7 separate regions of the Homo sapiens genome follow, and all the other regions are linked to region 1. The links are contacts of gene promoters, found by promoter capture Hi-C in blood cells and fetal thymus (Javierre and others, 2016). All regions are on one chromosome and are shown on one strand. Each heading gives the region's core, a stretch centred on a gene start or on the middle of the fragment in contact. The rest is flanking DNA. Distances are from core to core; before and after follow the strand shown.

The links. The method cuts DNA at HindIII sites, captures the fragments that hold promoters and counts their contacts. A CHiCAGO score of 5 or more calls a contact.
Region 2: a contact is called between a fragment that was not itself captured here and the fragment with the promoter of JADE1 in region 1, in 1 of 17 cell types (non-activated CD4 T cells). The highest score is 7.0, in non-activated CD4 T cells.
Region 3: a contact is called between a fragment that was not itself captured here and the fragment with the promoter of JADE1 in region 1, in 1 of 17 cell types (activated CD4 T cells). The highest score is 6.3, in activated CD4 T cells.
Region 4: a contact is called between a fragment that was not itself captured here and the fragment with the promoter of JADE1 in region 1, in 9 of 17 cell types (activated CD4 T cells, total CD8 T cells, non-activated CD4 T cells and 6 more). The highest score is 13.2, in activated CD4 T cells.
Region 5: a contact is called between a fragment that was not itself captured here and the fragment with the promoter of JADE1 in region 1, in 1 of 17 cell types (activated CD4 T cells). The highest score is 5.8, in activated CD4 T cells.
Region 6: a contact is called between a fragment that was not itself captured here and the fragment with the promoter of JADE1 in region 1, in 2 of 17 cell types (total CD4 T cells and activated CD4 T cells). The highest score is 5.5, in total CD4 T cells.
Region 7: a contact is called between a fragment that was not itself captured here and the fragment with the promoter of JADE1 in region 1, in 1 of 17 cell types (activated CD4 T cells). The highest score is 7.0, in activated CD4 T cells.

The regions. Positions count from the first base shown.
Region 1 is chr4:128,808,038-128,811,286 of GRCh38, reverse strand. It overlaps JADE1 (jade family PHD finger 1), which reads right to left and starts at 1,587. Exons shown (of 11, transcript NM_199320.4): 1 at 1,410-1,587. RefSeq lists silencers at 1-24, 655-774, 1,285-1,764 and an enhancer at 1,075-1,184. The HindIII fragment of the contact is 6,052 bases long and covers 1-2,371 here.
Region 2 is chr4:127,872,007-127,875,255 of GRCh38, reverse strand. No RefSeq gene overlaps it. Among named protein-coding and RNA genes, the nearest start is that of PLK4, 7.3 kb to the left of the region's middle. The HindIII fragment of the contact is 9,011 bases long and covers 1-3,249 here.
Region 3 is chr4:127,947,532-127,950,780 of GRCh38, reverse strand. MFSD8 (major facilitator superfamily domain containing 8) reads left to right here. Exons shown (of 12, transcript NM_001371596.2): 3 at 934-977. Among named protein-coding and RNA genes, the nearest start is that of MFSD8, 16 kb to the left of the region's middle. The HindIII fragment of the contact is 1,619 bases long and covers 654-2,272 here.
Region 4 is chr4:127,964,252-127,967,500 of GRCh38, reverse strand. It overlaps MFSD8 (major facilitator superfamily domain containing 8), which reads left to right and starts at 2,328. Exons shown (of 12, transcript NM_001371596.2): 1 at 2,328-2,429. The coding sequence starts at 2,368. ABHD18 (abhydrolase domain containing 18) reads right to left here and starts at 2,095. Exons shown (of 13, transcript NM_001358451.3): 1 at 1,895-2,095. RefSeq lists enhancers at 216-715, 716-1,217, 1,896-2,511, 2,102-2,521 and silencers at 1,612-1,841, 2,962-3,011, 3,022-3,151. The HindIII fragment of the contact is 3,933 bases long and covers 1-3,249 here.
Region 5 is chr4:128,049,524-128,052,772 of GRCh38, reverse strand. No RefSeq gene overlaps it. Among named protein-coding and RNA genes, the nearest start is that of LARP1B, 10 kb to the left of the region's middle. RefSeq lists an enhancer at 1-82. The HindIII fragment of the contact is 4,093 bases long and covers 1-3,249 here.
Region 6 is chr4:128,070,979-128,074,227 of GRCh38, reverse strand. The region is part of intron 1 of LARP1B (La ribonucleoprotein 1B); the gene reads right to left. Among named protein-coding and RNA genes, the nearest start is that of LARP1B, 11 kb to the right of the region's middle. The HindIII fragment of the contact is 5,579 bases long and covers 1-3,249 here.
Region 7 is chr4:128,095,315-128,098,563 of GRCh38, reverse strand. It overlaps LARP1B (La ribonucleoprotein 1B), which reads right to left. Exons shown (of 20, transcript NM_018078.4): 8 at 234-378. Among named protein-coding and RNA genes, the nearest start is that of LARP1B, 36 kb to the right of the region's middle. The HindIII fragment of the contact is 9,900 bases long and covers 1-3,249 here.

The DNA.
Region 1 (3,249 bases), core at 338-2,837:
GCAGCCGCGTCCTCAGCCCCGCCTCCTGCCCGAAGGCGGGCGGGGGGGAGCGGGAAGGAGGTGGAAGGGATCGAATTTCTCCAGCAAATGGGACCGTTCCGACAGGATTCGGTTCCCCGGTCAACATTCCACATTCCATCCCTCTCCCGCATTTGCAAGCCAATGCCGAGCAACCCGGAAAGCCTGCTGGCTACCGAACAACAGCCCCCAACTCGCAAACACAGACTCACAGGCACAAGACACGTGCACTGAAGGGCTCTGCAACTTGCAGTCCCGGGGTACACACTACACGTTCATTTAAGGAAGCAAGGAGACCAAGAGACCCCACCCCCACAATTTGCAGATGGTGCCAAAGGTTGCAATTTGCAATCCCCTTTAAGTTCACGATTAATCGGTACTTTGCTCTACCAACGCCAACTCCTACCCCATTTCATCGATTAAGGGGTTTTACACTTTACAAGCAGTCGCGCTGTAAGTAAAAGATCTGATCACTGGAAGCCCAGTTCGGAAGAATCTAATTGCCAAACTGTCCCTCCACCCCCACCCCCACCCCCCTCTCACTGCCCTTGAATTGATGCAATGAATATTTTGGACATGTGGTGACGCGGTGACAAGAGCCAGGGCTGCGGCCACCACACACAGATGTACCTACGCACACCTATGTTTGGACAAATACAGTCCCACCACACACACGGTCTCACACACTCTGGATTCATATATGTACGCGAACCTGCGTTCTGCCATTGCCATCTGTCTACCAAGTTGCTACTATGCTTTCCACTTTCATGCAGCCTAATGCACTTTGGCTTTCTAAAAAAAAAAAAAAAAAAAAAAAACCTATAAACTAAAGCCAACTTAAACTGGGCTTCTGCTCCTAAACGCGTTTAATTGATGATTCACCTGAAAACCGCATGTTCTTCGCAAATCCAAAAGAAGAAATAGCTCTAAGTCTTCAGCCCCCCAAATTTGAAAAAAAAAATCATAATAAAACTTACTGATCCAACATAGATCAATTCTCAGGATCCAAAAATCATCCTCTCCTCCTCCTCCGGCCCCCGCCCCGGCAATGCCCAAGTTACTGGTGGGATAGTAACGCTGCGCTCAGCGGCTGCCTCCCTCCCTCCTCGCTACAGATCGAGAACCCAATCTTTTGGCGCCATATTAATGACGTATTATATTATTTCCACTAGGCAGCGACCTTCGGCATTAAATTACTCCCGAGAACTCCCGAGCAAAGCAACAAAACCATCAAATATGGCTGAGCCTCTCGGCTCGTCCTGCAGCCGCCGCCGCCGCCGCCGCCGTCGCCGCCGCGGGACCGGGACGCGCACACGGACCCACACGCGGACACGCGCGGACACACGCGCGGCGCGCCCACCCCGCGCGCCCCCCGCGGCCCGCGCGCGTACCTGCTGCGGAGGGGTTCGGCCGAGGCGCTGGGCTGGGCGCCGCTCGCTCGCTCGGAGCTGCATGAGTTCGGGCCGCGGCGGGCGGGGAGCCGGGCGGGCCCCTGCTCTCGCCGGCGCGCACACACCGGGCACTCGCGCACGGAGGCACTCTCGGTCTGGCGTTTGGCTTGTTATGGAGGAAGGACTATGTGAATCAAACTCATTTCTGGGTCACTGCTGCCACAGGGGGGAGCACTTTAATCCCTTGCCAAAACGAGAGGGTGGGGACGGGAGGGCGGAGGGAGCATGCGGGGAGCCCGCGGCGCTGGGGCTCGGTCCCTCGTTAACTCTTCGCAGCCCTAGCCGCAGCCGGCTCAGCCTGCGCCAGTGGGGGCTCGCAAAGAACGGCACTGTTCAGCTCTTAGTCTCTTTCCTTACTTCACCCACCTTGTGAGCCTAGAAATTCTTGAGGTGTCTCCAAGCAAGTGGGTTTTTAAATTAGCCCCTTCAAACTGCTGTCCCAGTTTCAACTCTTGTCTGACATCTAGAAATGGATTCTTTCAGAATAGTTTAAAATTACGTAGATTAAAATATGGCTATTAAGATGTGTCATTTGGGTGAAAGGTTTTATTTTTAGGCTGAGTGGCAAAATAGTTGTTTGTAGTAACAGTTTTAGGGAGTTGCACATTAGGATGACATTTTTAAATAGAGAGAATCCAATTCTGAATAACATCTTTACCTAAATTTGTATGGAAGTGATCATTGCAAATGAGCATTAATTCATTAGAAGATATTATTTATAAATTGACACCACTTTATGTTACACATTACTACAGAATTGGACATCTTCTCCCAAATATGAGGAGTGAGCCTAATGCTAAAACTAGAATTGCAGACTAGTATCAGATCAGTCATCGGAGATTCATTTGGGGGTATTTATGTGTAAAAAGGAGTGGTTACTGATTTTCTGCAGAAGACAAGCTTGCTTTTTCATATAGAGGGCAACATACTTCTTTCATGGATTCATCTAGGGAAATAGAGGGGTATATGACATTCAACTTCAATAAGAAAAAAGTACGGATTAAAAACTCCCATTCAGGCCGGGCGCGGTGGCTCACGCCTGTAATCCCAGCACTTTGGGAGGCCTAGGTGGGCGGATCACCTGAGGTCGGGAGTTCAAGACCAGCCTGACCAACATGGATAAACCCTGTCTCTACTAAAAAATACAAAATTAGCCGGGCATGGTGGTACATGCCTGTAACCCCAGCTACTGGGGAGGCTGAGGCAGGAGAATCGCTTGAACCCGGGAGGTGGAGGTTGTGATGAGCCGATAATGCGCCATTGTGGTCCAGCCTGGGCAATAAGAGCGAAACTCCGTCTCAAATAAATAAATAAATAAATAGGAACAGTGATCACTAATTACAAAATTGAATATCGAACCCAAAAGGCATATGTGTCCACCGGAAGAATCTTTCTGAATATATCAGGTTTGATTTCATGTAATCCCACACCAGCCCAACTACCCACATCCAGACCCACATCCAGAACGTTATAATCTGATAAATGCGACAAAACAAAACTAATTGAGCCTTTCAGTTATTTTTCAGAAAACAAAGTAAGCCAGTGGAAATCCTAAGTACTGTATATGTCCTCTCCTGTTTCGCTAATGAAGAGTAGAAAGACTCCCTGCCAGTCCTATTCATGTGTTCACTTAATCCTGTTCAAAGCGATCACACATGTAAAGCACTGTGTTAACTATCATTATTACTATTCTTAGTATTGCACTTGTTATTGTTATTTTTACTGGTTCACCTCGCACATACTCTCTGTAGAAGTTAAAGTACACAGGCTTTGTAGCCAG
Region 2 (3,249 bases), core at 551-3,050, 940 kb after region 1:
TTATTGGACCCCCACAAGAAAAAAGAGAAAAAGATGGGGGCAAAAAATATTTAAGAAAGAATAGCCAATGAAAAACATAAATATACATATTCAAGAGGCTCAGTCAATCCTAAGCAAGATAAATTCAATGAAAACCACACCAAGGTACATAATAATCAAGTGACAGTCATAATTTGACCATCAAAGTCAAATGATTATCAAAGATAATGAGAAAAATCTTGAAAACAACCAGACAAAAATCAATATATTACACACACAAAAAAGTAACATAAATGATGTTGACTTCTCACAAGAAATAATGGAAGGAAAAAGACAGTGAATTGACATCTTTAAGTGCTGATGAAGAAAGCCCCTGTCAATTCAGAATTCTATTATCTAACAAAAACAGTAATTTAGATAAATGAAAACAAGATAATTCATCATCCACTGACCTGCACTACAAGAAATGCCAAAGGAATTTTTTCACACTGTGTGGATTTGATAAGAAATAGAAACTCATATTGTCAGAAAGTAATCAAGAACATCAGAAATGGGAATTATGGGCTGGGCATGGTGGCTCATGTCTGTAATCCAATCACTTTGGGAGGCCGAGGCAGGCGGATCACTTGGGCCAGGAGTTCGAGACCAGCCTGGCCACCATGGTGAAATCCTGTCTCTACCAGAAATAAAAAATTAGCTGGGTGTGGTGGAGTGTGCCTGTAATCCCAGTTACTTGGGAGGCTGAGACACGAGAATCGCTTGAACCCAGGAGGTGGAGGTTGCAGTGAGCTGAGATCGCACCACCACACTCCAGCCTGGGTGACAGAGTGAAACCCTGTCTCAAAAAAGAAAAAAAAAGAAAGAAAGAAATGGGAACTATGTAGATAAATATAAAGAACTATTATTTTGTTTCTTTATTTCTTTAAAATACACATCAGTAAATAATGTGAAAATTAAAATATTTTATTTGGCCAGTTGTATATCTTCTTCCCTTTTAAAAAAATATGAGACAGGGTCTTACTATGTTGCCCAGTTTCATTTCAAACTCCTAGGCTCAAGTGAACCTCCTGCCTCAGCCTCCGAAGTAGCTGGGACTAGAGGTGCGCTTGGCTGTGTATCTTATTTTGAGAAGTGATTTTTCAGGTCATTGGCCCATTTTTTAATAAAATTACTTCTTTCTTGCTATCAAGTTGAGTTCTTTATTTTGATATTAACCCTTTATCAGATGTATGGTTTGCAAATATTTTCTCCCAAGTCATGGGTAGTCTCTTCACTCAGTTGATTGTTTCCTTGCCTGTGCAGAAGCATTTTGGTTTGACACAATCTCAGTTGCCAATTTTTGCTTTTGTTGCCTGTGCTTTTGGGGTCATATTTTAAAAAAATCATCGCCTAGACAAATATCATGGAGCTTATCCTTTATATTTTCTTCTAATAGTCTTACAGTTTCAGGTCTTGTGTTTAAATCTTTGATCCATTCTGTGTTGATTTTTGTATATCAGCTGACATAAGGGTTCACTCTCATTCTGCTGCATGTGGAGGTCTAGTTTTGACAACACCCTTTATTGAAGAGGCTGTCCTTTCCATATTGTGTGTTCTTGGCACTTTTGTTGAAGATCAATTGCCTAAATGTATGGATTTATTTTGGGGCTCTCTATTCTGTTCCATTTGTCTATATGTCTGTTTTTATGTCAGTACCATGTTGTTTTAATTACTATAGCTTTATAAATTATTTTGAAATCAGGTAGTATAATGCCTCCAGCTTTCTTCTTTTTGCTCAAGATTGCTTTGGCTACTCAAGGTCTTTTGTAATTCCAGGTAAATTTTAGGATTGCTTTTTCTATTTCTGTGAAAAATGCCATTACAATTTTGATAGGGACTTCCCTGAATCTGTGGATTGCTTTGTGTAGTATGGTGTATTAGTCTGTTTTCACACTGCTATAAAGAACTACCTGAGACTGGGTAATTTATGCAGAAAAGAAGTTTAATTGACCCACAGTTCTTCAGGCGTAACAGGAAGCATGACAGAGAAATGACCATAGTTCAGATGTCAGGGATTAGCACGGGATTGTGAGGGATGATGGCTCCAGTCCTGAAAAGCCCAACAGTGGCGCCTTTGGAGGGGGCATAGCCATGTTTCCCTCTCTGGTGGTAGTGGAGGGGTCTGCAGTGGGGATGGCTGTTGGTTACCTCAGTTGCTGGTGTCCTCTATAGAGCAGGTGAGTGGGGACCACAGTAGCCCATGCTGTGCGGCTGATACTAATAGCTCCTACCCTTGTCTTTTGTTCCTGTCTCTAGATGTCTCAGGTATACTGCTGTCCTTTGACTGTTCCACATTGGTTATTCTCCATTTTTCTCCTCCACTGTGTTACCACAAGTTCTTAAATGGGCCCTTGATCCCTCCCAAAGTTATTATCATTTATGGATAACTATTATTATCCATAACAATACTCTGCCATCTTGCTAACATCACTGTCCTCTCCAATTCATTTAATAATTATAAGATTATTTATTTGTTTATTTATTTTGAGACAGAGTCTCGCTCTGTCGCCCAGGCTGGAGTGCAATGGCCTGATCACGGCTCACTGCCACCTCTGCCTCCTGGGTTCAAGGGCTTCTCCTGCCTCAGCCTCCCAAGCAGTTGGGATTACAGGCGCATACCACCACCACTGGCCAATTTTTGTGTTTTTAGTAGAGACGGGGTTTTGCCATGTTGGCCAGGCTGGTCTCGAACTCCTGACCTCAGGTGACCTGCCTATCTCATCCTCCCAAAGTGCTGGGATTACAGGCGTGAGCCGCTGCACCAGCTGACATCTATACAATTTTATTTATTATTATTATTATTATTTAGAAAAAGTCTTGTCTGTTGCCCAGGCTGGAGTGCAGTGGCACGATCTGAGCTCACCGCAACCTCTGCCTCCCACATTCAAGTGATTCTCCTGCCTCAGCCTCCTGAGTAGCTGGGATTACAGGTGCCAACCACCATGCCCGGCTAATTTTTGTTTTTTTAGTAGAGACAGGGTTTCACCATGTTGGCCAGGCGGTCTTGAACTCCTTATCTCAGGTGATCCACCCACCTTGGCCTCCCAGAGTGCTGGGATTACAGGCGTGAGCCACTGCACCCGGCTGACATCTGTGCAATTTTAAAGATACTTCCTTATAGGATGCTTTGGTTCTTCATCTATTTAATCATAATCATAGCTACATCTCTATTTCTTTTTCTTCTTTTCTTTCTTTTTTTTTTTTTGAGATGGAGTCTCGCTCTGTCACCCA
Region 3 (3,249 bases), core at 214-2,713, 860 kb after region 1:
CAGCCTCAGTAAAGCCATTTTGAAGAACAGGCTTTATAGAATTTCTTGATTTGCCCAACATTTATTTATTCATTTTTAATTTTTTTTTGAGATGGAGTCAAGCTCTGTCACCCATGCTGGAGTGCAGTGGTGCGATGTTGGCTCACTACAACCTACTCCGCCTCCTGGGTTCAAGCAATTCTTCTACCTCAGCTTCCTAAGTAGCTGGGATTACAGGCATGTGCCACCATGCCCGGCTAATTTTTATATTTTTAGTAGAGACAGGGTTTCACCATGTTGGCCAGGCCGGTCTCAAACTCCTGACCTTAGGTAATCTGCCTGCCTCAGCCTCCCAAAGTGCTGGGATTACAGGCATAAGTCACTGCTGGCTGCATTTGCCTAACATTTAAAATTGACAGATAGTGTTGGAGTTAATCATTATAGTTTTCATGTAGTAAAGGCTAGCAGAAATAGTGAATTTTCTTTTAAGGTATGGCCATCTTGAAGTATTCTGGTTTTCTATAGCCCCCCTGTAGATGATCATTTTCCTTATTCCTGCTCTTCCCTTCAGTCAATTATCTCCTCCAAACAACACAGGATAGAAGCCTAGCACTTCCTGTCTAACAAAATAGCCTTTCCTCCATTCATTTCTGCTATAAAAACTTAACAAAGCTTTTGGTTATTTCCATTTACAGTAAAAGCACATGAGTATGGAGAAGTAGATCCTCTGCTTTTTTGTATTTGTTATTATGATGAGGGACTGTAATTGTATGTTCTTTTAGTCTTTATTTTTCTTCTGATAATTAAAATCTCATTGCCTCATAAATTAGGCATTTGTATGCATAGATTTTAGGTTCAGAATATTTTAAAATCCATGCCACGGTTCAGAAAATTGTATCTGTAATAATGATTAAATTATTATAAGTATAAATAACCTAGTTTGCTTCTTCACAGGGTTTTCTGTAGTGATGATGTCCATATGGCCATATCTCCAAAAGGTTTGTACATTTCAATCTATTTTTCCCTTATAGCTACAGTAGTAGTAACTCTTACGTAGTTAAGCATTTTCTAAAGAGTCTCTTTGGTATTCTATGGTTTAATCTTTACAAGAATAATGAGATAATAGTTCCTTAAAAGAGGCTTATAAGTAATGTGACCATATGCTTTATTGTGCAAGCCAGAACACTTTTGTAGTGAAGAGACTGCTACGTAAGGAAAAATAGGATCATACCCAGATAGTCCCAGGCAAAGGTAGATGTATGGTCACCTACTCAGAAGCCACATTCATATTCCATCATTACCTCTTCCCTAATAAAAAGGAAACTAGTAATAGTCTGAATTCCTAAAGTGTGTAAATGATATTTTTGTGGAATAATTTAACGCTTTTCCCATAAAATTAATTTGGGCTATCAGGTAACATTGTAAAGACTAGAACATATGTATTTTTTGATGCTGTTATTACTAGAAGGGGAAGAGGGGGTGACATGAATATGTAAGTTTGTTAGGTAGCTTAACATCAGTTGATCATCAGGTCCTGTCAGTTCTATCTTAAATCTCCAGGAAGAAACTTAACTAAAAATCAGTATATAAGTTGGTTACATAATTCATCTATAACAATGTTTTAGTAAAGGTTCTTAAAGAGTTCCTCTGTATTTCCTAACCTACTCCTTAACCTACTGCTATCTGATTAACTTTTCTGCTGTCCTGAAACTGCTCTTGTAAGGTTTCCAATTACTTAATTGTTGATCACGAAATACTTTTCAGTCCTTATTTTAGGTGACACCTGGATAGGATTTGACATTGTTGTCCTCTCCTTACTTCCTGAAACCACCTGTATTAGTCTGTTTTCTGTTGCTTATAACAGAATACCCTAAACCAGATAATTTATTTTAAAAAAGGAATTTATTTCTTACCGTTACAGAGGCTGAGAAGTCCTAGTTTGAGAGACCACATCTGGTGAGGGCCTTCTTGCTGGTGGGGACTCTCCGAAGAGTCCCAAGACAGTGTAGGGCATCACATGATGAAGGGGCTGAGCATGCTAGCTCAGGTCTCTCTTCCTTCTCTTATAAAGCCACCAGTTCCACTCCATGATAACCCATTAATACATAAATGGATTCATTCATGAGGGCACAGCCTTCATGATCCAATTGTTAGTTGGCAGATCTGTGTCTGTACAGGTCTGCAGCAACCTCAATTCTTGCCTCCTGAAAGAAATAATTCAAGTAAAGGACATAATGCAGAAGGAGAAACTGAGGCAAGTTGTAGAGCAGGAGTTAAAATTTATTAAAAAGCTTTAGAGCAAGAATGAAAGGAAGGAAAAGAAGGAAAGTACACTTGGAAGAGGGCCAAGTGGGCAACTTGAAAGACAAGCCTGCGGTTTGACCTTTTGACTTGGGATTTCATACACTGGCATAATTTTGGGGTCTTGCATTACTTCTCCCCACTCACCCCACCCCTGAGATCGTATCAGGAAGCTGCTAATTACCAGGTGTTTTCTATTTATTAGGAGGCTGCCTTTTCCTAGCACTAGCTGTGACCAATAATTACTTTAGAGAGCGTTAACAACCGCCTGACCATCACCTAACAGTCTCTCCACACTCCCCATGTGAGGGGCAGGGGAGACCTCTCCTGCCCTGTTCATACCCAACTAGCTACCTAATGTAACACAGTCACTTCTTAAAGGTCCTACCTTTCAATATTTTAATAATATTAATTTAAATATTAATTTCCAAAAAATGAAATTTGGGGGACACATTCAAACCATGGCACCACCTCTTAGCTTCTGTGACATTTCTCTATCCTGGCTTTCCTCTTAACTCTAATGACTTATTCTTAAATTCTTTTGTGTATTCTTCCTTATCAGTTTATCCCTTGTTGGTTTTTCTATGAGGTTGGAGAGAGAGTGTGTGTGTGTGTGTGTGTGTGTGTGTGTGTGTGTTCACACGTGCATATGTGTGTTTTATCCTAGATTCTGAACTTTGTCCCATATTAGATGTATAGCCAACAATTTATTAGATAAATCCATGGTACTTGGATGAACCCAGGCTCCTCAGGTCTTTACACATTTGTCTCCCTTTTTACTGGAATGCTTTTCCTCTCTCCATCTTTCTTTTGCTCTCCCCTTTCTCCTTCCTCACTGTCTTTTATTCACTCTTCAAGGTTTTGCTCCAGTGTCACCTCCTCTGGAAAGCCTTCTCTCTCTCTCTGTTTTTTTTTTTTTTTTTGCAATGGAGTCTTGCTCTGTTGCCCTGGCTGGCATGCAGTGGCGTG
Region 4 (3,249 bases), core at 534-3,033, 840 kb after region 1:
AGCCAATTATTTCACTTAGATAAAAACTGAATATCTACTATATATTTTTATGAGATATAAGGAAAGATTCTTCTTGCCGCTTTGCCATTTTTTCCCATAAGAAGCCTGGTGGTAAAGAGCACAGGCTTAGGATCAGGAGTCCTGCATTTCTTGAATTCTAGCTCTGTTGCTTGTTAGTAGTATGATCCTAGGCAAGTTACTTAATCTCCCTGCCTTCCATTTCCTTGTACACATGAGACAATTCCCCCCTCAGAGGATTGTTGTAAGGATGAGATGAAGTAATTCAATGAGCATTCATCCAACATATATTTATCTAGGAGCCATTCTGCTTACTGCTATACTGGTTAAAAATCCCCTTGTCCACTATATATGTGCCATACATTGCTAGCCCCCAGGAATTAAAAAAGACAATATAATAAAGCGACATTATGGCAAGAAAATACTAACTTTTCTACCTATGTGTCTTTTTGGAACCAATAATACAAATCTGACTTGTTTTTGTGAGCTGTTACAAATGAATCTGCAAGACTGAATCCAAGTACAAAATATCAGGTCTTGATTTAGAAGATATTTCTGAATAGCACGTTTCAAGGTTTTTGGTTTTTTTTTTTTTTTTGAGACAGAATCTCACTCTGTTGCCCAGGCTGGAGTGCAGTGGCGTGATCTCGGCTCACTGCAGCCTCCGCCTCCCGGGTTCAAGGGATTCTCCTGCCTCAGCCTCCCGAGTAGCTGGGACTATAGGCGCCCGCCACCACGCCCGGCTTTTTTTTTTTTTTTTTTTTTTTTTTTTTTTTTTTTGTATTTTTAGTAGAGACGGGGTTTCACCGTGTTAGCCAGGATGGTCTCGATCTCCTGACCTCGTGATCCGCCCGCCTTGGCCTCCCAAGGTGCTGGGATTACAGGCATGAACCATCGCACCCAGACCGCACGTTTCAAGTTTAGGTGTTCACCAGTGAACTGCGCCTGGCTGATACACACAAGGTCACAAATGACACAAAGATCAGAAGTGATGGCATATACCATACATGACTGTGTAACTAGTATAGGACCTAGCATAGGGTAAATGCTCATAAATATTAATTTAAAAAAATTAAGTTTGGTTTCCAACTTTGCCACTTCCACACAGAGTGACTCTGGGTTAACTTGTCTGGATCTTAATTTTCAGTAAACTAGCAATGTGTCTGCTTCGCCTATCTCATAGGATACTTGTGATCAAATGAAATTACATGACAATGTATCTGGCGCTAATAAAACGGTAATTTATGAGACACAGAATGACTACTGACGCCAGCTAGCCTACAAGCCTAATAGTAGAGATAAGATGTTAATACATAACCACCAAGAAATAAACATGGAGATCTAGTGAAAACCCATGACATGTTTTCTAAAAATGTCATCTTCCTTGTGACGAAAGGAGCTGGTCATTGCTAGGCAGGTGCTGTACCTTTTTCAACTCCCACGTTTCAGCAGCAGGCTCTGCTGAGTGACATTTTGCAAGGCTGAGGCCCCCGTAGGCGCAGGCGCCGTTGGGGTGCGCATCCGGGGACCTGCAGGTTACAAGCAGCAGATCCCACCTTCAGTCCTGGCTCTGACAAGCCCTCCAGGTAAGGCGCCTTTGCATTTAGCCGAGCTAGAGAAGAGAGCTGGAAGCCACCTCTACCTTTCACGGGGGGAAGGGACTGCCCGCGCGCTCGCCCCCATTATCTCAGCCCTCCGAAGCGCGCCACGGACTCCAGCCTTGTCTCTCACCCCCAGCCTCACCCCGCGTCCCTGACCCGCGAGTCTCCCGCCCAGCTCCGCGTCCCCGGTCCCTGCCTCCAGGCGCGTACACGGCGCGCTAAGAGGCGCGGGGAGCTCTTAGCGCACCTACTACTTAACCGGACCGGCTACTTACTGGCCGCCAGGTGGAAGCCTGCGATCGAGCTGGCCGGGCCTCCCAGCACCGCCGCTCTCCAGGCTCCCTTTCCAGGACTCAACTTTGGTCCCAGCCCCAATCGCAGCTCCGGTAACCTTTCCAGGAACCGAAATGCTAGATACAGCGGAAGGAGAAACGGAGGGAGGAAGACAAACCCGGAGCAGGGCGGCGCGGCAGTTTGGACACGCCCCGAGCTCTCCTGGGCTCTCAGTCCCCGTCAGGATGGGAGGCGCGTGCCGAGGGAGGAGGCTGAGGACACAGCCTCCTTTCGCCCTGCGCTGCCCGGCCTTCCGCGTGACCCCGCCTATGACCTCGGGGCGTTCCGCCTACGTCTGACCGTCAGGTGCGCACGCGCACTTACAGGCTTGTTTTGCCAGCTTCACGCCACCCGGGATGGGAGAAAGCAGGTGTCGCGAGAGTTGGGCGCAAGACGCCTTGTAGGGAGTGTAACTATGGCCGGCCTGCGGAACGAAAGTGAACAGGAGCCGCTCTTAGGCGACACACCTGGAAGCAGGTGAGCGGATCCTGGTGGAGGGACCCCTCAGTCTCCTGCGCTGTTGGGACTGGTTCCTTTCCGGGCGTCACCCGCACTGGGACAAACCCTCGCTGCCAGAGGGGTTCCAGCGCGGTGGGAGCCGGTGGCTGGGTTGTGTGAGCCGAGGAGATTCGCTCCCAACGTAGGAGAAAGGGCGTCTGGCCGCACCGTGCGGTGATGAGCCCGTGGGTTCGAGTGACGGGGCTGGAGAAACCCAGGCTGCTGCTTTGCCTGTTGCAGCACCCAAGCTGAGAGGTGACAGCGTGCTGGCAGTCCTCACAGCCCTTGCTCGCTCTCCAGGCCTCCTCTGCCTGGGCTCCCACTTTGGCGGCACTTGAGGAGCCCTTCAGCCCACCGCTGCACTGTGGGAGCCCCTTTCTGGGCTGGCCAAGGTGGGAGCCGGCTCCCTCAGCTTGCAGGGAGGTGTGGTGGGAGAGGCGTGAGCGGGAACCGGGGCTGCGCGCCGCGCTTGCGGGCCAGCTGGAGTTCCGAGTGGGCGTGGGCTTGGCGGGCCCCGCACTGGGAGCAGCAGGCCGGCCCTGCCGGCCCCGGGCAATGAGGGGCTTAGCACCCGGGCCAGCGGCTGCGGAGGGTGTGCTGGGTCCCCCAGCAGTGCCAGCCCACTGGCGCTGCGCTCGATTTCTCGCCGGGCCTTAGCTGCCTTCCCGCGGGGCAGGGCTCGGGACCTGCAGCCCGCCATGCCTGAGCCTCCCACCCACTCCGTGGGCTCCTGTGCGGCCCGAGCCTCCCCGATGAGCGCCGCTCCCTACTCCACGGTGCCTAGTCCCATCGACCACCC
Region 5 (3,249 bases), core at 250-2,749, 760 kb after region 1:
TGGCCAAGATGGTGAAACCCTGTCTCTACTAAAAATACAAAAATTAGCCAGGCGTGGTGGCATGTTCCTATAATCCCAGCTACTCGGGAGGCTGAGGCAGATAATTGCTTGAACCGGGGAGGCGGGGTGGCAGTGAGCCGAGATTGTGCCACTGCACTCCAGCCTGGGTGACAGAACGAGACTCCATCTCAAAAAAAAAAAAAAAAAGATAGTAGTTATCTTTGGGAAAGTCAAAGGAGTTAAGAAAAAAATGTAAGGAGTATGATCAATGATTCATGGAAAATTGAGTATGCATCTGTTTCTTCACTTCTCCCTCTTCAGTCCAGTTTCTGGCTCTATCACTCAACCGTGTCACTAAAATATCAAATGACTTACATGTTAATAAGTCTACTGGGTAATTTTCAGTCTTCATCTTTTCCTTTCAGCTTTATTTTTCACAATTAACTACCTAGTGGTAGGTAATAGTTAACACACATATGCTAGACACTAAGTGTTTTACATGTGTTAATTCATTTAATCCTAAGAACAACTATATAAAATACAGATTATTATTGCCCCCATTTTTAAATGAGGAAACTGAGGCAAAATGGATAAATGGCTTGCCTAGAATCATACAATTAGAAAGTGCCAGGGCCGGGCGTGGTGGCTCACGCCTGTAATCCCAGCACTTTGGGAGGCCAAGGCCAGTGGATCACCTGAGGCCAGGAGTTCAAGAGCAGCCTGGCCAACATGGTGAAACCCCATCTTTGCTAAAAATACAAAAATTAGCCGGGTGTGGTGGTACATGCCTGTAGTCACAGCTACTTGGGAGGCTGAGGCGGGAGAATTGCTTGAACCTGGGAGGTGGAGGCTGCAGTGAGCCAAGATCATGCCACTGCACTCCAGCCTGGGCGACAGAGCTAACTAGACTCCCATCTCAAAAAAAAAAAAAAAGACTCCCATCTCAAAAAAAAAAAAAAAAAGAAAGTGCCAGAGCAAGGATTTGAGCCCAAGCAATCTGGCTTCATAGTTCTCCATAGTTCATACTCTTAACCATAACAATACACTATATTGCCTTTTTTTCCCCTTAAAGTTGTTCAACAATACTACAAAATAGCTTGTGGTTTTTAAAATGCAATCAGCCGCCAGGCGTGGTGGCTCACACCTGTAATCCCAGCACTTTGGGAGGCCGAGGTGGGCGGATCACCTGAGGTTGGGAGTTCGAGACCACCCTGACCAACGTGGAGAAACCCCGTCTCTACTAAAAATACAAAATTAGCTGGGTGTGGTGGCCTGTAATCCCAGCTGCTCAGGAGGCTGAGGCAGAAGAATCGCTTGAACCCAGGAGGCAGAGGTTGCAGTGAGCCGCAGATGGCGCCATTGCACTCCAACCTGGGCAACAAGAGCGAAACTCCGTCTCAAAAAAAAAAAAATGCAATTAGCTTATGCATATGGTAACACCAAATGGTACAATATTGTTTATAATGAAAATAAAAAAACAGTTCTACTTCACAAAGGTACTAATCCCCAAAGTTACCATCTTTCAACTTTTGCCTTGCCACTATAAAACATGAGGATTTAACACACTTACATAAGCCCCTGCTCGATTCTCCTCCCAATTTCTGATATTTTTGTTGTTTACTTGGAAATTTTAAATAATTTAAGTAATTTGAACATTTACTTAGTATTTCACCAATTTTAGAAAGAGCTTCTTATATTGCCACTCTATAAAATGAGAATATATCATCCTACCCTTTGTTCTACCTTCCAACGGTTGTCTGCTTTTCTTTATTTTTACATTCAACCCTCTTATTAGAACTCCCATGTGTCCCCCACCAACACACACCATTTTTTTTTTTTTTTTCGAGACAAGATCTCACTCTTTTGTTCAGGCTATAGTGTAGTGCTGCGATCACGGCTCACTGCAGCCTTGACCTCCCAGGTTCAAGAGATCCTCCCACCTCAGCCACTCAAGTAGCTGGGACCAGAGGCATGAGCTGCCAAGCCTGGCAAATTTTTTTTTTTTGAGACGAAATCTCACTTTGTTACCAGGCTGGAATGCAATGATGCAATCTCGGCTCACTGCAACCTCCACCTCCCAGGTTCAAGCAATTCTCCTGCCTCAGCCTCCTAAGTAGCTGGGATTACAGGCACATGCCACCATGCCCAGCTAATTTTTGTATTTTTTTTTTAGTAGAGACGGGGTTTCACCATGTTGGCCAGCGTGGTCTCGATCTCTTGACCTCGTGATCCACCTGCCTCAGCCTCCCAAAGTGCTGGGATTACAGGCGTGAGCCACTGTGCCCGGCCGTGGCAAATTTTTTATTTGTTTCAATTTTTGTAGCGATGAGGTGTCCGTTGCCCAGGCTTGTCTTGGACTCCTGGGCTCAAGCTATACTCCTGCCTTGGCCTCCTCAAATTTCTTGCTTTTCTTTATGGTTTGTCACTAAACATGCATCCCATAGTTTTGCCTATTTTTAAAACTATATGTAGATGGAATCATATGCTACTTTCCGTCTTGCTTCTTTCATTCAATATTATGTTTTTAAGATTCATACAAGTTGAGAGTAGCTGTAGGTCATTTATTCTGTTATAGTATGTGTATTTCATTGAATGACTATATCACAATTTTTTATGCTATTGTTGATGAATTTTTCGGCTTCCAATTTGGGACTACTGTAAACATGGCTTTTATGAACATTTTTTTTTCTGGTGTGCATGTGCCAATTTATTGAGGGTATCATTTTAGGAATAGAATTTCTGAGTCATAGGATCTGCATATCTTCATTTGTTCCAAATATTGCCAAGTCATTTTCCAAACTCTTGTACCAATTCACACACCCACTGGCAGCGTATGAGAGGTCTCCACATCCTGGACATTTCTTCCTTTTCCTTACATTGTCAGGAGTAATCACTTATACTCTATTGAGTAACCATAATATACCTTTGTGCTTTGTTCATAGATTGGTCTGAAAATTTAAGAATCCACAAACAGCTTTATGTTATTTTGAGTTTATAGCTATCTCTTACTGCAGAACAATGTAGTATGAGAGGACTGCATTCCCTTCTCTGTGGTTTCAGTGTCATGATCCCCTAGAAATAAGATCAAATGGGGCTGAGCACGGTGGCTCACACCTGTAATCCTAGCACTTTGGGAGGCCGAGGCGGGCGGATCACCTGAGGTCAGGAGTTCGAGACCAACCTGGCCAACATGGTGAAACCCCGTCTCTACTAAAAAATGCAAAAATTAGCTGGGTGTGGTGGTGGGTG
Region 6 (3,249 bases), core at 273-2,772, 740 kb after region 1:
TGGCTCACGCCTGTAATCCCAGCACTTTGGGAGGCCGAGGTGGGTGGATCACCTGAGGTCAGGAGTTCGAGACCGGCCTGACCAACATGGAGAAACCCCGTCTCTACTAAAAATACAAAATCAGCCGGGCACAGTGGCACATGCCTGTAATCCCAGATACTCAGGAGGCTGAGGCAGGAGAATCGCTTGAACCTGGGAGGCAGAGGATGCGGTAAGCTGAGATCTTGCCATTCCACTCCAGCCTGGGCAACAAGAGCAAAACTCCACCACAAAAAACAAAAAAAAACACAGCGTATTACACTGAACTGACAGAACAATCCTCTCATTAACAGAATATAGGCTGGGCCTGGTGGCTCACACCTGTAATCCCAGCACTTCGGGAGGCCAAGATGGGCGGATCACTGGAGTCAGGAGTTTGAGACCAGCCTGGCCAACATGGTGAAACCCCATCTCTACTAAAAATAGAAAAATTAGCCCAGTGTGGTAGCACATGCCCATAGTCCCAGCTACTCAGAAGGCTGAGGCAGGAGAATCGCTTGAACCTGGGAGGTGGAGGTTGCAGTGAGCCTAGATTGCACCACTGCACTCCAGCTGGGGCGACAGAGCTAGACTCTGTCCAAAAAAAAAAAAAAAAAAAAAAAAAAAAAAAAAAAAACGACAACAATATAACAGGAGAAAATTACAAATACAACTTTTTTTTTTTTGAGACAGAGTCTCTTTATTTCTCTCATGCTGTTTGCTGTTGGTAAGAGTATGAGGTAGTATTTCTTTCTTTCTTTCTTTTTTTTTTTTTTTTTTTTTTTTTTTTTGAGACGGAATCTTCTCACTCTGTCGCCCAGGCTGGAGTGCAGTGGCGCAATCTTGGCTCACTGCAACCTCCCCCTCCGGGGTTCAAGCCATTCTCCTGCCTCAGCCTCCCAAGCAGCTGGGATTACAGGCGCCTGCCACCATGCCTGGCTAATTTTTTTGTATTTTTAGGAGAGACAGGGTTTCACCATTTTAGCCAGGCTGGTCTCAAACTCCTGACCTCAAGTAATCCGCCCACCTCGGCCTCCCAAAGTGCCAGGATTACAGGCATGAGCCACGGCGCCCAGCCAAGGTAGTATATCTTTCAAGGGTAATCTGTCATCTAAAATGTATATAACTTTTAATAAAAGAATTCCATTTTCAGGAAATTATCTAGGAATCAAGAAAAGGTACAAAGATGTCCATATAGGATGTTCAGTGCAACTTTGTTGATAATCCTATTTAAACAGTCTCTACGTAATAATACACAGAATACTATATAACTTTTAGAAATCAGACAAAGCTGTATATGTATTGACATGGAAAGAAGTCCACCAGGTTTTAAATATAATTTTATATATACAGGCCAGGCTCAGTGGCTCACACCTGTAATCCAAACAGCTTTGGGAGGCCAAGGCAGGCAGATCTCTTGAGGCCAGGAGTTCAAGACCAGCCTGGCCAAAATGACGAAACCCCATCTCTACTAAAAAAACAAAAATTAACCAGGTGTGGTGGCGCATGCCTGTAATCCCAGCTACTTAGGAGGCTGAGGCAGGAGAATCACTTGAATCCAGGAGGTGAAAGTTGCAGTGAGCCGAGACTGCACCACTGCACTCCAGCCTGGGCAACAGAGTGAGACTCTGATTAAAAAAAAAAAAATTATATATACGTACAGATTACAAGTAAAAGAAGCCTAAGAAAGGAAATTTTTCATTTTCTCATGTTTTAACATGGAGGAAATCATGCTGCATGTCATTAGAGAACACCTAAGACTGAAATAGCAAGCCAGTTGAGGAAATTGTTTTAAATTTAAAAATTTAAAACATATCTCCATTTTTCAAACATCATTAGTAAGACAGACACTATATACCAGTACATCTTTTTTGAGCATTATTTCACTATCTTTAAAATGTTACTCTTAGGCCGGGCACAGTGGCTCACGCCTATAATCCCACCACTTTGGGAGGCCAACGCAGGCAGATTACCTGAGGTCAGGAGTTTGAGAGCAGCCTGGCCAACATGGCAAAACCCCGTCTCTACTAAAAAACACAAAAATTAGCCAGGCATAGCAGCGGGTGCCTGTTATCCTAGCTACTCTGGAGGCTGAGGCACGAGAATCGCTTGAACCCAGGAGGTAGAGGTTGCAGTGAGCCGAGATCGCACCACCACACTCCAGCCTGAGGAACAGAGCGAGACTCCATCTCAAATAAATAAATAAAGTAAAAATAAATAAATAATAAAACGTTATCCTTAAACCCTGGGACCTACAAGGAAATAACTGTAAATAGTTAAAGAAAATAATATATTTTTAAGGGCTAGGATACTTTAAACAAAAGCTACAACACAGCAGAGCCTATTTCACTCAGCTTAATTCTTATGACCATAATCTTTTGGCAAAATTTTAATTAAGAAAATGCACTGATGATATCAATATTTCACATCTTATCATATTTAAGGGAAAATGTGGTAAAAATTAGTGCTTTTTAAAATGTGAAAGAATGGCCAGGCGCGGTGGCTCATGCCTGTAATCCCAGCACTTTGGGAGGCTGAGGCAGGTGGATCACCTGAGGTCAGGAGTTCAAGACCAGCCTGGCCAACATGGTGAAACCCCATCTCTACTAAAAATATAAAAACTAACTGGGCGTGGTGGTAGACGCCTGTAATCCCAGCTACTCGGGAGGCTGAGGCAGAAGAATTGCTTGAACCCAGGAGACGGAGGTTGCAGTGAGCCGACACAGTGCCACTGCCCTCCAGCCTTGGCGACAGAGTGAGACTGTCTCAAAAAAAAAAAAAAAAAAAATTGTGAAAGAAGACAATTCTCAAACTCTAATAGTGGGAGTATCAGTTTATACAGTTACTTTAAAAAGCAACTTGTAAAGGCCAGTGCGGTGGCTCACGCCTGTAATCCCAGCACTTTGGGAGGCCGAGGTGGCGGATCACGAGGTCAGGAGATCGAGACCATCCTGGCTAACACAGTGAAACTCCGTCTCCATTAAAAATACAAAAAATTAGCTGGGTGTGGTGGCGGGCGCCTGTAGTCCCAGCTACTCAGGAGGCTAAGGCAGGAGAATGGCATGAACCCAGGAGGTGGAGCTTGCAGTGAGCCAAGATCACGCCACTGCACTCCAGCCTGGGCGACAGAGCGAGACTCTGTCTCAAAAAATAAAAAATAAAAATAAAAACATTAAAAAATAAATAAATAAAAAGTGACTCATAAACTTAAAAAATGCCCTATAACCTAAC
Region 7 (3,249 bases), core at 239-2,738, 710 kb after region 1:
TGAGGGGGAGGGGAAGGAGAAAATACACAGTAACATCGTTAGCAATACTTTCAGGGGTTTCCAAGGTTAGACATTTATGAAGGTTTTACAAAATAGAAAAACATCATGGAATGCTGTCTGAGCCTCAAGCAACTACAGATTGTCTGTTTTTAGTACTCTGTTTTTCAGAGAAGTTTTAGGTACAAAGGAAATTTGAGCAGAAAGTACAAATTGTTCATCAAATGAGCAATTACCTCTAAGATGAGATTAAGGTTTGTAGTGAGAGCCTGAACACGCTGAAAACCAGCAATCAGGGAAATAGGCAAGAAACCTTGTTCATCCATCTTTCCCCGAAGAAAGAAGTCTCGTTCCAAATTTTCTACACTGAAGTAATATTCACTGAAAAGAGAAATCAGAATTTCATCCATTTATTTAGTAGGAAATAAATATTTCTATTGCTCCCACATTAACTGTGAAAACCAATCATTAACATGAAAATATTGTAATTTGGTTAACAATATGTATAGCTCTAATACAACACAGATAGGGTAAACATATAAGATAGCAAAAAACTCTACTGAATTAATAATTTCTCTTAAACTTAAAATATTATTTTCCAAAAAATTAATAACTTCTATTTAGATCAGTTTCACTAAATATAAAGAATTAAGCTGCTCATTTTACCTTAAAATAGTTCAATAATTTTTTTTAATGAGTTAATTAGATGAAAATCTTTACAAAGCCACTTCTACTTGTTTCATTTAAGCATTAGATAACAAAGCTAATCCCATGTTAGCATAATGCCTTCCACCTTTTTCCCAGTCGCTGAGAAGAGTGGTATACTGGAAATATCCTTTGTCAAATTCACATACAGAAAAGTAGTTCATTTTGTTTTCTAAGTTGACAAAGTACTGCCATGTTTAATACTTCTGAAGCCTAGTAACCAGCACAATTCTTAGTTAAAAACTCAGTGAACATGGCCAGGCGCGGTGGCTGATGCCTGTAATCCCAGCACTTGGGGAGGCTGAGATGGGTGGATCCCCTGAGGTCGGCAGTTCAAGATCAGCCTGACCAACATGCAGAAAACCTGTCTCTACTAAAAACACAAAATTATCCGGGTGTGGTAGCGCATGCCTGTAATCCCAGCTACTCAGGAGGCTGAGGCAGGAGAATCCCTTGAACCCGGGCAGCAAACATTGCAGTGAGCCAAGATCGCGTCATTGCACTCCAGCCTGGGCAACAAGAGCAAAACTCCATCTCAAAAAAAAACAAAACAAAACAAAAAAAACTTAGTGAACACACAGGCATATGTGCACATATATATTTTGAACGATTCAAGTTCTCCATGCTTCTTTCTTTGATAGACAGACCATAAGACATTAAGGGTGGCCCGGTGAGGTGGCTCACGCCTGTAACCCCAGCACCTTCGGAGGCTGAGGTGGGTGGATCGCTTGAGGTCAGGAGTTTAAGACCAGCGTAACCAATATGGGGAAACCCCATCTCTACTAAAATACAAAAACTAGCTGGGCATGGTGGCGGGTGCCTGTAATCCCAGCTACTCGGGAAGCTGAGGCAGGAGAATCAATTGCACCCAGGAGGCAGAGGTTGCAGTGAACAGGGATGGTGCCACTATACTCCAGCCTGGGCGAGAGCAAGACTGTCTAAAAACAATAATAAAAGACGTTAGCCAGGCATGGTGGCTCACGCCTGTAATCCCAGCACTTTGGGAGGCTGAGGCGGGCAGATCACAAGGTCAGGAGATCGAGACCATCCTGGCTAACATGGTGAAACTCCGTCTCTACTAAAAATACAAAAAATTAGCCGGGTGTGGTGGCAGGCGCCTGTAGTCCCAGCTACTCGGGAGGTTGAGGCAGGAGAATGGCGTGAACCTGGGAGGCGGAGCTTTCAGTGAGCCAAGATTACACCACTGCACTCCAGCCTGGGCGACAGAGCGAGACTCCATCTCAAACAGAAAAAAAAAAAAGAAAGACATTAAGGGTGAACAGAATATAGCTAAAGAAGGAATATCCTTGACACCATGAGGCACATGGAAGCAAAAATATAGAAGATGATTAGATGTTTTATCTTCTCTTGAAAAACACAAACCCACTTAACCTTTCCGAGAGAAATGTAAATGGATGAACTGTCAGTATGATCAGTAACTACAAATCCCAAGATATAAAGATAATATTCACAATACATTTAATAATAGCCTTTGAGAAATACATGTTTATCCACACCATAGGAAAGGTTAAAGAGAGAGAAATACATGTTTAAATTATAGCCTCCATAGGCCGGGCGCGGTGGCTCACGCCTGTAATCCCAGCACTTTGGGAGGCCGAGGCGGGCGGATCACGAGGTCAGAAGATCGAGACCATCCTGGCTAACACGGTGAAACCCTGTCTCTACTAAAAATACAAAAAATTAGCCGGGCAAGGTGGCGGGCGCCTGTAGTGCCAGCTACGTGGGAGGCTGAGGCAGGAGAATGGTGTGAACCCGGGAGGCGGAGCTTGCAGTGAGCTGAGATCGTGCCACTGCACTCCAGCCTGGGCAACAGAGCGAGACTCCGTCTCAAAAAAAAAAAAAAAAAAATTATAGCCTCCATATATGTAAATGAGAGTATGAGGATTTTAAAGACAGAGAAGAAGACAAACGGGAAAATATAGAGAAGAATGATACAAAAGAAATACATAACATCAATGATGATGGGGCCTACAGTTTAATAATCCCACACTATTTCCAAATCACAGAGAAAGTTTTCAAACATGGAATACAAGTTATGAGAAAACAAACCAGCTCACATTTTGGGGTATAAAACTCAGTGACTAAAGATGCCCTTGAAGTATATGGGCCAAATTCTATCTTTGAAAAAAAGGCATCTATAACTGGAAACTTGTTTTCAGCTACCTTTTACTGAAGGGGAAGAAAATAAATCAACTTATTTTAAGAATGTAAATATCCAAATTTTCCTTTAATAGTTTGATATTTACCCAATTGTCAGAGTGCAAAGCTCTCTCAAAGACTACTGAAATACTACTGACATCTCACTCAGTAACACTAGTAAATCATTTACTTTTTTTTTTTTTTTTTTTTTTGAGATGGAGTTTCACTCTTATTGCCCAGGCTGGAGTGGGATGGCATGATCTCGGCTCACTGCGACCTCCGCCTCACAGGTTCAAGCGATTCTCCTGCCTCACCCTCCTGAGTAGCTGGGACTACAGGTGTGTGCCACCATGCCCGGCTAATTTTTGTATTCTTAGTAGAGACGGG